Linked DNA regions of Homo sapiens: regions 2, 3 and 4 are each linked to region 1. Evidence: promoter capture Hi-C in 16 types of primary human blood cells and fetal thymus (Javierre and others, 2016). All regions are on one chromosome and are shown on one strand. Each heading gives the region's core, a stretch centred on a gene start or on the middle of the fragment in contact. The rest is flanking DNA. Distances are from core to core; before and after follow the strand shown.

The links. The method cuts DNA at HindIII sites, captures the fragments that hold promoters and counts their contacts. A CHiCAGO score of 5 or more calls a contact.
Region 2: a contact is called between a fragment that was not itself captured here and the fragment with the promoter of TIMELESS in region 1, in 17 of 17 cell types (total CD8 T cells, naive B cells, naive CD8 T cells and 14 more). The highest score is 14.1, in total CD8 T cells.
Region 3: a contact is called between a fragment that was not itself captured here and the fragment with the promoter of TIMELESS in region 1, in 9 of 17 cell types (naive CD4 T cells, M2 macrophages, M1 macrophages and 6 more). The highest score is 8.5, in naive CD4 T cells.
Region 4: a contact is called between a fragment that was not itself captured here and the fragment with the promoter of TIMELESS in region 1, in 12 of 17 cell types (endothelial precursors, M1 macrophages, naive B cells and 9 more). The highest score is 11.8, in endothelial precursors.

The regions. Positions count from the first base shown.
Region 1 is chr12:56,448,003-56,450,743 of GRCh38, forward strand. It overlaps TIMELESS (timeless circadian regulator), which reads right to left and starts at 1,424. Exons shown (of 29, transcript NM_003920.5): 1 at 1,308-1,424. MIP (major intrinsic protein of lens fiber) reads right to left here. Exons shown (of 4, transcript NM_012064.4): 4 at 1,500-2,741. RefSeq lists enhancers at 305-825, 848-967, 1,078-1,167. The HindIII fragment of the contact is 959 bases long and covers 807-1,765 here.
Region 2 is chr12:56,192,337-56,195,077 of GRCh38, forward strand. It overlaps LOC107984468 (a long non-coding RNA gene), which reads left to right. Exons shown (of 2, transcript XR_007063330.1): 2 at 757-2,681. Among named protein-coding and RNA genes, the nearest start is that of TRS-CGA4-1, 3.3 kb to the left of the region's middle. The HindIII fragment of the contact is 1,406 bases long and covers 611-2,016 here.
Region 3 is chr12:56,250,871-56,253,611 of GRCh38, forward strand. ANKRD52 (ankyrin repeat domain 52) reads right to left here. Exons shown (of 28, transcript NM_173595.4): 10 at 2,418-2,532; 11 at 2,134-2,216; 12 at 1,910-2,027; 13 at 1,632-1,700; 14 at 1,305-1,445; 15 at 1,145-1,225. Among named protein-coding and RNA genes, the nearest start is that of ANKRD52, 6.1 kb to the right of the region's middle. The HindIII fragment of the contact is 1,492 bases long and covers 653-2,144 here.
Region 4 is chr12:56,308,740-56,311,480 of GRCh38, forward strand. It overlaps CNPY2 (canopy FGF signaling regulator 2), which reads right to left. Exons shown (of 6, transcript NM_014255.7): 4 at 2,472-2,675; 5 at 2,219-2,315; 6 at 1,105-1,856. The coding sequence ends at 1,813. CNPY2-AS1 (CNPY2 antisense RNA 1) reads left to right here and starts at 2,675. Exons shown (of 2, transcript XR_002957416.2): 1 at 2,675-2,741. The HindIII fragment of the contact is 351 bases long and covers 1,150-1,500 here.

The sequences.
Region 1 (2,741 bases), core at 174-2,673:
GGCCAGACTGAGAGGCCACAGACACCCACCTACGGATTTAAGGCTAACTGTGGGTGGTCAAAGAGGAGTTTTAAATTTAACATCAGATGATCTACCTTTACTTTGTACAAAGTACTAGTAGGGCCGGGTGTGGTGGCTCACACCCGTAATCCCAGCACTGTGGGAGGCCGACGCGGGCGGATCATTTGAGGTCAGGAGTTCGAGACCGGCCTGGCCAACATGGTGAAACCCCATCTCTACTAAAAATACAAAAATTAGCCGGGCGTGGTGGCGGGCAGCTGTAATCCCAGCTCCTGGGGAGGCTGAGGCAGGAGAATCGCTTGAACTGGGGAGGCGGAGGTTGCAGTGAGCCGAGATCGGACCACTGCACTCCAGCCTGGGCGACAGAGCCAGACTCCATCTCAAAAACAAAACAAAACAAAACAACCAAAAAAAACAAACAGGCCAGGCGCGGTGGCTCACGCCTATAATCCCAGCACTTTGGGAGGCCGAGGCGGGCGGATCACGAAGTCAGGAGTTTGAGATCATCCTGACCAATAAGGTGAAACCCCCATCTCTACTAAAAAAAATACAAAAATTAGCCGGGCATGGTGGCGCGCGCCTGTAATCCCAGCTACTCAGGAAGCTGAGGCAAGAGAATCGCTTGAACCCGGGAGGCGGAGGTTGCAGTGAGCCGAGATGGCGCCACTGCACTCCATCCTGGGCGACAGAACGAGACTCCGTCTCAAAATAAAATAAAATAAATAAAAAATTGAAAGTACTAGTCGAAGCACGAATGGCAAAGAATTGAGAGGCTCAAGGAAAAAAGCTTCATTAGCGGCTGAGGTCCAGGTGACAAACCCGAACAAGGCAACGAAGGGAGGGAGTGAGAAATCCGTTCCATAAAACCCACGATATAAGTAAAGCGGCCTGTGAATTCCGACCACTGCTGACCGCCAGGCCACACACCGGTTTTTTTCAGGAGGTCTCAACTAGATGCTAAGCTCCGAAGTGGAACTCCCTCAGGCACTTTCTGTTCTAATTCAGGAATTCCAAGCCCCTTTCCATCACAACCCCATCCCGCGGGAGACCCAAGCTGTGCGGAGCAGCGTAGGGCTAAGCCCGCGTCCGGTGAGACCCGGGAACGCGGCGCGGGAGACTAAGGAGCAGAGTACAGAATTGCGCGTGCGCGCCTGCAGCACGAGCCCCGCCCCCTGGCTCTAAACCGGGTGGCGGGAAAAGGGACTCAGCGTTTCCCGAGAATGCCCCCATAGCTTCGAAAGGATCCCCGTGTCCGCTTAGCGCCCTCTCGCCACACACTCACTCACCCGCTCCCTGCGGGTCCTCAGAAGCCCGGAGGAGCCACCGGCCCTCTGGCGCGGGGCCGCAGCCTTTCCGCCACCAGGCTCAGCTGGACCGGTCCCCGCCTGCGCGAAGAGCGAGGCGGGGCGAGCCGGGCTGGTCCACGTGACTCCGAGCGAACTGGGGCGGAGATTGGTGAAGAAGGAAGGAAAAGGGAAGCGAGTGCAGGGACTGTTTTATGTGAGGTCGATCTAAAAATCACAGCGCTATGAATTTTCTGCTGAATTATAGTAGAATCAAAGTCCGATTAGAGGTGAATTTACAAACATTCTTCCCCTTCTTCTAGTCAAGCGGACTATTCCAAGTCTTAAATAGTTAGTTAGAAAAGTTAGGTTTTATTTGGGAGGAAGTAAAGAGCTGAAGTACAGGGAGGAATGGTCTTCTGGGATAGGGGATGTCCGTTGTATTATAGGTATAAATTTAAAGCTTTCAAAGTATGCAAGAGGCTCATAAAAGGAAGAAAGCAACCGTAAATATTCATTGAACAGTTGAGGGTCTCTTCTGGCCTCTGCTGAGATGATCTTGCCAAAAGGAAAAGAAAATAGGGCTGTGCTCTGGCCCCCTGTAATCCCAGCTACTGGGGAGGCTGAAGCAGGAAGATCGCTTGAGCCCAGGATTTCTAGACTGTAGTGTGCGATGATCGTGCCTGTGAATATCCATTGCACTCCAACCTGGTCAACATAGTAAGACCCCCTCTCAAAAAAAAAAAGAAGATAGGGCTCAAACAAATAATAATCTCCTGAATTATTAAGCATTTGAATAGAAGGAATCAATTTCTGGGGTATGAGGGAGTTAGAAGAGATTTGCTTCAAGATGAAAGGACGGATGACAGAGAAATGAAAATACACAGACACAAAACAAGAAAAAAAACACGGAACTAGTGATAAAAGCAGAAAGATGCCATTTGAGGAGTGTTTTGATTTGCTCTAAATAAATTAGAACAGAGTCAAAGCCTCTCCCCTCATGCCCCCTACTACCACCCGTTCATTTATTTGCTCCAGGAATCAGATTTCCTGTGTTGGCCTTAGGGAACAATTGTGGGGCTTAAATACCATCTGCCAGGCAGCCACAACAGTGGATGTCAGGCTGACCAGTTAAGCTGCTTAATTTTTCTAGATTCTAGGCTTGCCCAAGCTCTATTTAGGTTGGAAGCTCTTTGGCCCAGGACCTCTGAAGAGATCCATTATGTCAGAATGAACACAACCAGCCAGCGGATGTAGACAGGTTTACGTGGCTTTACAGAACAGCTAAATCCTAGTGTTCACTTTTCTCAGAGCTACTTCCCCACCCAAGTCCCTGGGGCAAGCATCCCTAAGATAAGTAGGCTATATATTCCCATTAACTTCCCCCCAATTCTTCGGTACACCTACATCCTGATCTGGGGCTAATACTCCGTTTTC
Region 2 (2,741 bases), core at 64-2,563, 260 kb before region 1:
GACTCTGTCTCAAATAAAATAAAATTAAAATAAAATAGAAACAGGTTCCATTTATTTTACCTTCTAAATATGTCTCAAATATGCTCACTTTTCTCAGGGGTGAGTGCAGGCTGAGCTAGAGCCTTCATTTGGAAGGTAGTGGTATTTGTGAGCACCATACGAGGTAATATATAGAAAACTGCACTAAAGCATCCACACTGCAGTCCGGGACCTTAAACCCTTCTATGGCTGCTTTCTGTGTTGCAGGATATGACCCCTTTTCTCTCACCACTCTTCCATATTCACTACATTCTGTCCACTGGCATTCTTTTAGTTCTTCCTGGTAGTTATTTAGCCTTGCTCATGGTGTTCTCTGCCTGGAATAATCTTTCTCTTCCACACTTTCTACTCATTCTCCACCTAAATGTTGGTTCTCCTGTGGAGTTTTCTCTGACCACTTGTTGCCTACCACATCCTATGCTCTCAACTTATTATGTGAAGTCTTTCTTCCCCTGTGGCATATAAACACATTAAACACAGATAAGGAGTCAGTTTTTAAAATTTTTTTGCATAAATGGGTGTTTTTTACAGTAGTTATGTGTACATGTTTTAATCTTTAGACTGGTATATAAGCTTCTTGAGAGTTAGGGCTGTGTATTTTATTTATTTGTATCTTCTCTACAAGGCCTTATAGATGTGATCAACTATGTGTTGAATGAATTTATAAAATCTCATAGGCTCATGATTCTCCTTCCTACCAAATCCCAATTTGCACAGGTTCTCATATTTAAATATCTGGAGAGCCAAGACCAGAATTGACCAGCAGAGGGCAACCAACAACTATGTTGTGAAGGGAAGAAGGCTCCATGGTTTACAAAATGGAGGATCTGGACCAAGAAGGGAAATATGGCAGAGGTAGTTTGCTACTTGAAGTTCATCCCTTTTACTCTCAAATGCTTCTCTTGTAACTTTTGTGGGTGAGAGGCCGAGGCTTCAAACCTTCATATACAATAGATCATTTTAAATTTCTACCATCCCCATGTACCCACCCCATCTCCCCAATTCCTTCACCCTTCCTCTTCCACTCCAACAAATCCTAACTATTCTTTTACCTTTCTTTACCTTGCATGATCTGGCCCCCTCTCTCTCACCATTCTTACATATTTACATATCACCCACTGGCATTCTTTAGTTCCTGCTACAGTATGTGGCCTTCCATATTTTCCCTGAAGTAACCTTCTCCACTTAAGCCTGTAGTCCCACTCATTTAAACCTCCTAAGGAACCTTCCATAAATATCCTTCCATAACACCTTAAAATTCCTCTACTCCACTGGATCAATCCTTCATGAATTCAGTACAAACAAAACCCCACCTTCATTTGACACTTTCAAATTTCCACATTGTTTTCTACTTCCTTTTATTTTTCGAATAAAATGTATACCTTTCTGCCTCCAGTTCCATACTATCAGATACCCCGTCATCTGGTTTCTGCCTCCTGAAGTGTTTTGGTTTTTTTTTCTTTTTTACTTTTTTACTTTTTATTTTTTTTTGAGACAGAGTCTTGCTCTCTCACCTAGGCTGGAGTGCAGTGGCACAAGCTCGGCTCACTGCAACCACCACCTCCCAGGTTCAAGCAATTCTCCTGCCTCAGCCTCCCAAGTAGCTGGTATTACAGGTCCCTGTCACCATGCGCCTGGCTAATTTTTTTTTTTTGTATTTTTAGTAGGGACGGGGTTTTGCTATGTTGACCAGGCTGGTTTTGAACTCCTGACCTCAAGTGATCCACCTGCCTCAGCCTCCCCAAGTGCTGAGATTACAGGTGTGAGCCACCGCGCCCGGCCTCCTGAAGTTTTTTAGACGTTAATAGAAACCACTGGACAAATTTAATAATCTCTTCTCAGTCTCCATCCTTTCTGTGTTTGAAACAACATTGATTTCTTACTGGCCTTCAGAAACACTTATTGTTTTTCTCCTTCTCAGTATACTGCTTCTCCACCTCATTTGCTTTCTTCTTCCTCCTGTGGAATTTCCACCAAAGCTTCATTCTCCCGAGACAAAATCTCAGAGCCACCTTTCCAGGTATGTCCTCAGCTAAACCATGGTCCTTTATCTCCAGCTGTTCACATCTCTGCACAGCTGACCTAGTGTCACCTAATATGCAAACAAAGCTTCTCTTCCTCTCTCACAATCATCGTTCTGAACTTTTCCCACTTTTGTTGATACCACTATTCACTCAATTCCTTCATTTCCAGCTCTAAGAATTAATTATCTGAAGTTTGTTTTCTCCCAAGCCCATCACACTGATTCATCAGTTGCTTCCCCAAGCACATCATCTTAATTCATGCCTGTTACGATGGCCTTCAAGGTGCCCTAGTTTCACCACACTGAAATCCACCCTATATTAGTGTGATTACACTGCTTTCATCATATTATTCCCCTGTCCAGGAACTCAGTTCCCCATCTAAACAAACACATGATCCTATTATCAACATACCCTGCCTAAATTGCCCGTTTTTCTTACCCTTACATCTTTCCACTAAGATACCTTCCATCTAATCTGGCTGGTCATCTCCGTGTGACAGCCCAACCCCTGCCATCCCTCATGAAGTTCCTTCTCTTTACTAACTAGGTAGTCTCACCATATAATGATCTTTTCAGCAATAAATTCTTAGATCTTAAAAGTATTATTATTTTGCCTGGACACGGTGGCTCACGCCTGTAATTCCAGCACTTTGGGAGGCCGAGGCGGGTGGATCACCTG
Region 3 (2,741 bases), core at 149-2,648, 200 kb before region 1:
AGATTATTAGCTTTCGAAAGACAGAAATTTGGGACAATTCATCCTTTTTAAATTTTTATTTAATTTTATTTATTTATTTGTTTTTTTGGAGACAGAGTCTCACTCTGTCGCCCAGGTTGGAGTGGATTAGTGTGATCTTGACTCACTGCAACCTCCACCTCCCTGGTTCAAGTGATTCTCCTGCCTTAGCCACCCGAGTAGCTGGGATTACAGGTGCCTGCCAACATGACCAGCTAATTTTTATATTTTTAGTAGAGACGGGGTTTCACCACGTTGGCCAGGCTGGTCTCGAACTCCTGACCTCAGATGATCTGCCTGCCTCGGCCTCCCAAAGTGCTGGGATTATAGGCGTGAACCACCACACCCGGCCTATTTTTAATTTTAATTTTTTTGAGACAGAGTCTTGTTCGGTTGCCCAGGCTGGAGTGCAGTGGCGTGATCTCGGCTCACTACAACCTCCACCTCCCTGGTTCAAGCAATTCTCCTGCCTCGGCCTCCTGAGTAGCTGGGATTATAGGCGTGTGCCACCACACCTGGTTAATTTTTTGTATTTTTAGTAGAGACGGGGTTTCACCATGTTGGTCAAGCTGGTCTTGAACTCCTAACCTCAGGTGATCTGCCTACCTCAGCCTCCCTAAGTGCTAGGATTACAAGCTTGAGCCACTACGCCCAGCCTCATCTTTTATCCTTAGTATCTAGCACAGTACTTGGAACCTAGTAAGTAAATATTTAATTAATGCTTGTGGAATAAACAAATTATTTTGTACATTTAGCTTTTCTAATCCTCTCAAGAAGACCAGCCGGGCGCGGTGAGCTGAGATCACACCACTGCATTCCAGCCTGGGCAACAGAGTGAGACTCTGTCTCCAAAAAAAAAAAAAAAAAAAAAATCCATTCCTTTAGGGAAGGAACTATGTCTCATACTTTTGGGTTTTTTTTTCCCCCTGAAGCTCCTGAGCTTCAATCTCATACTTTTGTCTTTGCCCACTATGGACTACACCCAGAGGGCTCAAGACACACTGCTGGCTGACCGGCAGGACAGCAGCAGTATAGGGTAGAGGTTCAGATTAGGTAGGAGGACAGTAGGGCCAGAGCTTGCATGGGTTGGGGAAAGCACATCCCAGGGGCCCTCTCTGCTACTCACAAGAAGGCCTCCTTCCTGCGGGACTCCTTCAGTGGCTCGTCCTCTTCGGCATCATGGCTGGAAGGTGTATGGGGTTCCGCTCTGGGGAAGAGAGAGAGAAAGTTAGGGCCAGGCTCAGGGAGGTGAATGGGGCTGAGAAGGACCAGACTGGTAGCCTCACCTCCTGTAAGTGTCAGAAGCGGCAGCGTAGTGGAGGGGAGAGCAGCCTTTACAGTCGGCCTCGTTGACACCTGCCCCAGCAGTCACCAATGTTACTGCACACTGGTAGCTACCGTTAGCAGCTGCATAGTGCAGTGGGGTCCTGGGGAAGAAGTGAAGGAGGGTGGGGAAGAGAATCAGAGACAGATACGAATGCAATCAGATGTGCAGCCAAATGCTGCTTTGTAACATTCTCCTTATTTAAGTCTCCAATCTAAACCCTTCCTCCCTCTACCATTTGTTTCTCTAATCAGATATTCCCTATGTTTACCCCTGCATATTAGCATACCTGCCAAATTTGTCCCTCCTCCTCAAGTCAGCTCCACTGCTCAACAGCAAATTAAGACATTCAACATTCCTAAAAGAAAGATGTGTTAAGAGAGTTACAGCCTCAAAGGGAAGCCACAGGCCCAGGGTGGGGCTAAGGAAGGATGGGACTAGCAAGCCCTTTCTGCTGTGACTGCTTTCATTGTGAGAGGGGGAATAGATCTGGGCAGGCAAGAATGAGGGGCCCAGACCTTTGCCCAGCTCCCTGCTCAAAGCATGGGAGAGAGAAAGAGAACTCACCCTCCGGAAGCAGCAGCATGAAGACAGGTACGGCCAAGGTTGTCAGGTGTATTGATGTCAAACCCAGCTGAAAGCACATGCTCATTGCTGAGTGAAGACACAATGCTGTACAACTGACCTGGAGGCACAGAACAGCCACAGGTCACATCTGAGAGTGTTCAGCAGGGAGGGAAAGGCCTTTGCTCTCCTATACACCTGCCAATCCCCAGCCCATCAGCACATACCTGAGGAAAGAAGCTTACGACAACAGTCAGAGAATCCAAAGAGAACAGCTAAGTGCAGGGGGAACATGTCATGGATGCCACGCCTAGAGAGAAGTTGAGGGACTCAGTCCTTGGGTCAAGGAGGGACCAAGTAAGACCTCTTCTGTGACCTACCACCACCCTAGAGTCAGGGTAGGAGGTTCTCCAAGGTGCCCTTTGGCAAGCTTATCTGTGCCTCCATGGTTGATGTGAGCAGTCTGTGCAGATCTGGGCAGCCCAGAAGTGGAGTCGGGGCCCTGACTCACCGGGCGGTATCTGCGCCATTGGTCATGAGGGTGCTGATGAGCAGCTCGTGTCCATATCGAGCAGCCACATGCAGTGGCGTGTTCCCAAATTTGTCGGCACAATCAATCTCGCTGCCTGTGAGGGGATGCACACACACAAGCTCAGGCAGACCTCAGGCTTAAGACCACTTTCGCGAGCTAGCCATGATTTGAGTGCCTACTATGTATGCATCAGGTGCCAGGCCCAGGATTCTACATATTTTATCCTGTTTCTAGGCCTTAGGAGACTGGGCAGGGCAGAGCAGGGCCATTTCCACAGGTCCCTTGGTCAGAGTTCCAAGGGCC
Region 4 (2,741 bases), core at 75-2,574, 140 kb before region 1:
TTGTGGAATATATGCATTCTATGCGCCAGGCTTAGTGCAAGGTATTATTAGAGAAAAAAGACTTAAAATAGAAGGTACTCTATAGCTATATTAGATCAGGTCAGCACTTGGGAAAGTTAGCTTATAGACCCAGTTTTGCCATTAAATACAGAACTTCATAAAGTTCTATGGCTTCTCTGGGCCTCAGCTTCTTCATCAATAAAATGGGCAGAGGTGAACCAGACGACCTCTAAGGTTCCTTTAGATTCTAAAATGATGTAATTTTTAAAACCTTTGAAATGTTTATTCAGGTCTTCTCTCCTTGAGGTGTTCTTGGGACCGGAGATATTCCATTTGAAACCCTGAGACAACCATACCTCAAGCTCAGAGTGCTTAAGAATTTTCTGCCAGGTGCGGTGGCTCACACCAGTAATCCCAGCATTTGGGGAGGCCAAGGCGGGCGGATCATGAGGTCAGGAGATCGAGACCATCCTGGCTAACACGGTGAAACCCTGCCTCTACTAAAAATACAAAAAAATTAGCCAGTGCAGGCCGGGCGCGGTGGCTCACGCCTGTAATCCCAGCAGTTTGGGAGGCCAAGGCGGGCGGATCACGAAGTCAGGAGATCGAGACCATCCTGGCTAACATGGTGAAACCCCGTCTCTACTAAAAATACAAAAAATTAGCCGGGCGTGGTGGCGGGTGCCTATAGTCCCAGCTACTTGGGAGGCTGAGGCAGGAGAATGGTGTGAACCCGGGAGGCGAAGCTTGCAGTAAGCCGAGATCGCGCCACTGTACTCCAGCCTGGGCGATAGAGCGAGACTCTGTCTCACAAAAAAAAAAAAAAAAAAATTAGCCGGTGTGGTGGCGGGCGCCTGTAGTCCCAGCTACTCGGGAGGCTGAGTCAGGATAATGGCGTGAACCTGGGAGGCAGAGCTTGTAGTGAGCCGAGATCGCGCCACTGTACTCCAGCCTAGGCGACAGAGCGGGACTCCATCTCAGAAAAAAAAAGAAAAAAAGAATTTCCCAAAAGAAGGTATCCTTTAGGTTTTCATCCCTATGCCCCAGTCTGGAATCTCTACACACAGAATTGTGGACAGACTTATAGTCCAGATTGACAATGGCTAGTGATAGATACACTTTATTGTTGCCACTGGCATCAAATTTAAAAGCTTAGGCTGGCAAGCAAGGCCTCTCATTAAACAACCTTCCTTACCTCGTCTGTCCCTATCCGATAAAGCCCTTACTTTTCAGCTGAGTTGGTCACATCCATTTTCCCCTTCCTGTCTCTGTTCTTGCTGGTCCCTCCATCTGGATGGGCAGGGAAGGAAGAATAATGCATATCCGTTATTTCCTTCAAGACCAAGCCCTGTCTTACTTTATGTTTCAACAGCCATGAACACAAGGGATTTCTAGAATTCTACACTACCATACACTATGTTCCCCTGCTTCCTCATGGAGGTTCCTCTATTCTCCACAATTAGACTCTAAAGACGTGGTATTGAGTGGGCACTGACTGAAAGCTTATCTAGTTTATGAGTGGAGTGGAATCTCAGAAGGTAGAAGAATTAAAGGTTCAGGCCTCTCCTACCTTTATCCTGTATCAATCCCAAAACTCTTCTTTCTCCTCCATTATCTTTCCTGTCTATATAACTCCTTATCTTCAAGCTTAATGTAAGGGCAATTCCAGGCATGAAAAGACAACACAGTTTGTACTTTTGGTTTCATATTTTTTCAGTTAATTTCAGTAAAAACATAATATATAAAAGGCATTGCCACCATTTTCCCCTCCTGGGGGTGATCCATCAAGCCAGTGTGGGCTGCTCCAGTGGTTCATAGCTCATCATGCGATATGTGCAGGGCATGGTCACAAAGATCTGCAAATGGCAAACAATTTAAAGGAATATGCCATTCTCATACTGATATCTGCCAGTATCAAGAAAATTTCCCAGACCAAGCTGACACAAACACACACCAACCACCATTCTGCAGAATATATGCTTATAAATGATAAAACATCCCCACTGTCCTCTCACCTGTATCTCAGGGTCAAGGGGACACAAATTCTGAAAGCTGACAGAAAATGTGGAGGAACACCCCAAGTCCCTAAGCCAAGGGAAATGGAAGACAGCTCTTGACCTAATACCAGAGGTTTCTGGGATGGGGGTGTATGGGTGAGTTAGGGAATGTCAGGTTCCACAGAGCTACTAGAACAGGAGATAAAGTGGGGGCAGCTTACCTGTTCGCTTACTGCAAAGTTTGTCTTTAACATTGTCAGCCTCTCGGGAAAAGAATTCAATGAGTTCATCCTCGTATTCCTCCACAATGCTCTCACACTGCCAACCCAAGGGAGAAATGGGTGACACAGGGCAATAAGAGGCCTCTTGCCTTCACTTCCAAAGAGGAGGACAAGGATATCAGCCTAACTTTCTAATTGGTTCTCCAACAACCCCTTAATGTCCAAGAACCAGCTACCGATTCCCATAGCTCACCGCAAACTTGAGGGTGCCGCTAATATCTGAGTCGATTCGGATGCCTTGTAGGTCCAGTTCACTGGATTCTCCATTCCGGCCCACTACACGTACGTAGTTCTTGCGATGGGTGGAAGGATCAATCTGTTCCCCATACTCCTTCATCCGGTCACATATCTCCTCCAGCAGCTCTGTGAGGTGGGCCTCTGAGCGGGCATAAGGCACCTAGAAATGTCCTCAGCCTTGGGTCACTCTCTTCTACCTCTGTACATTAGTAATTTATATCCTTAC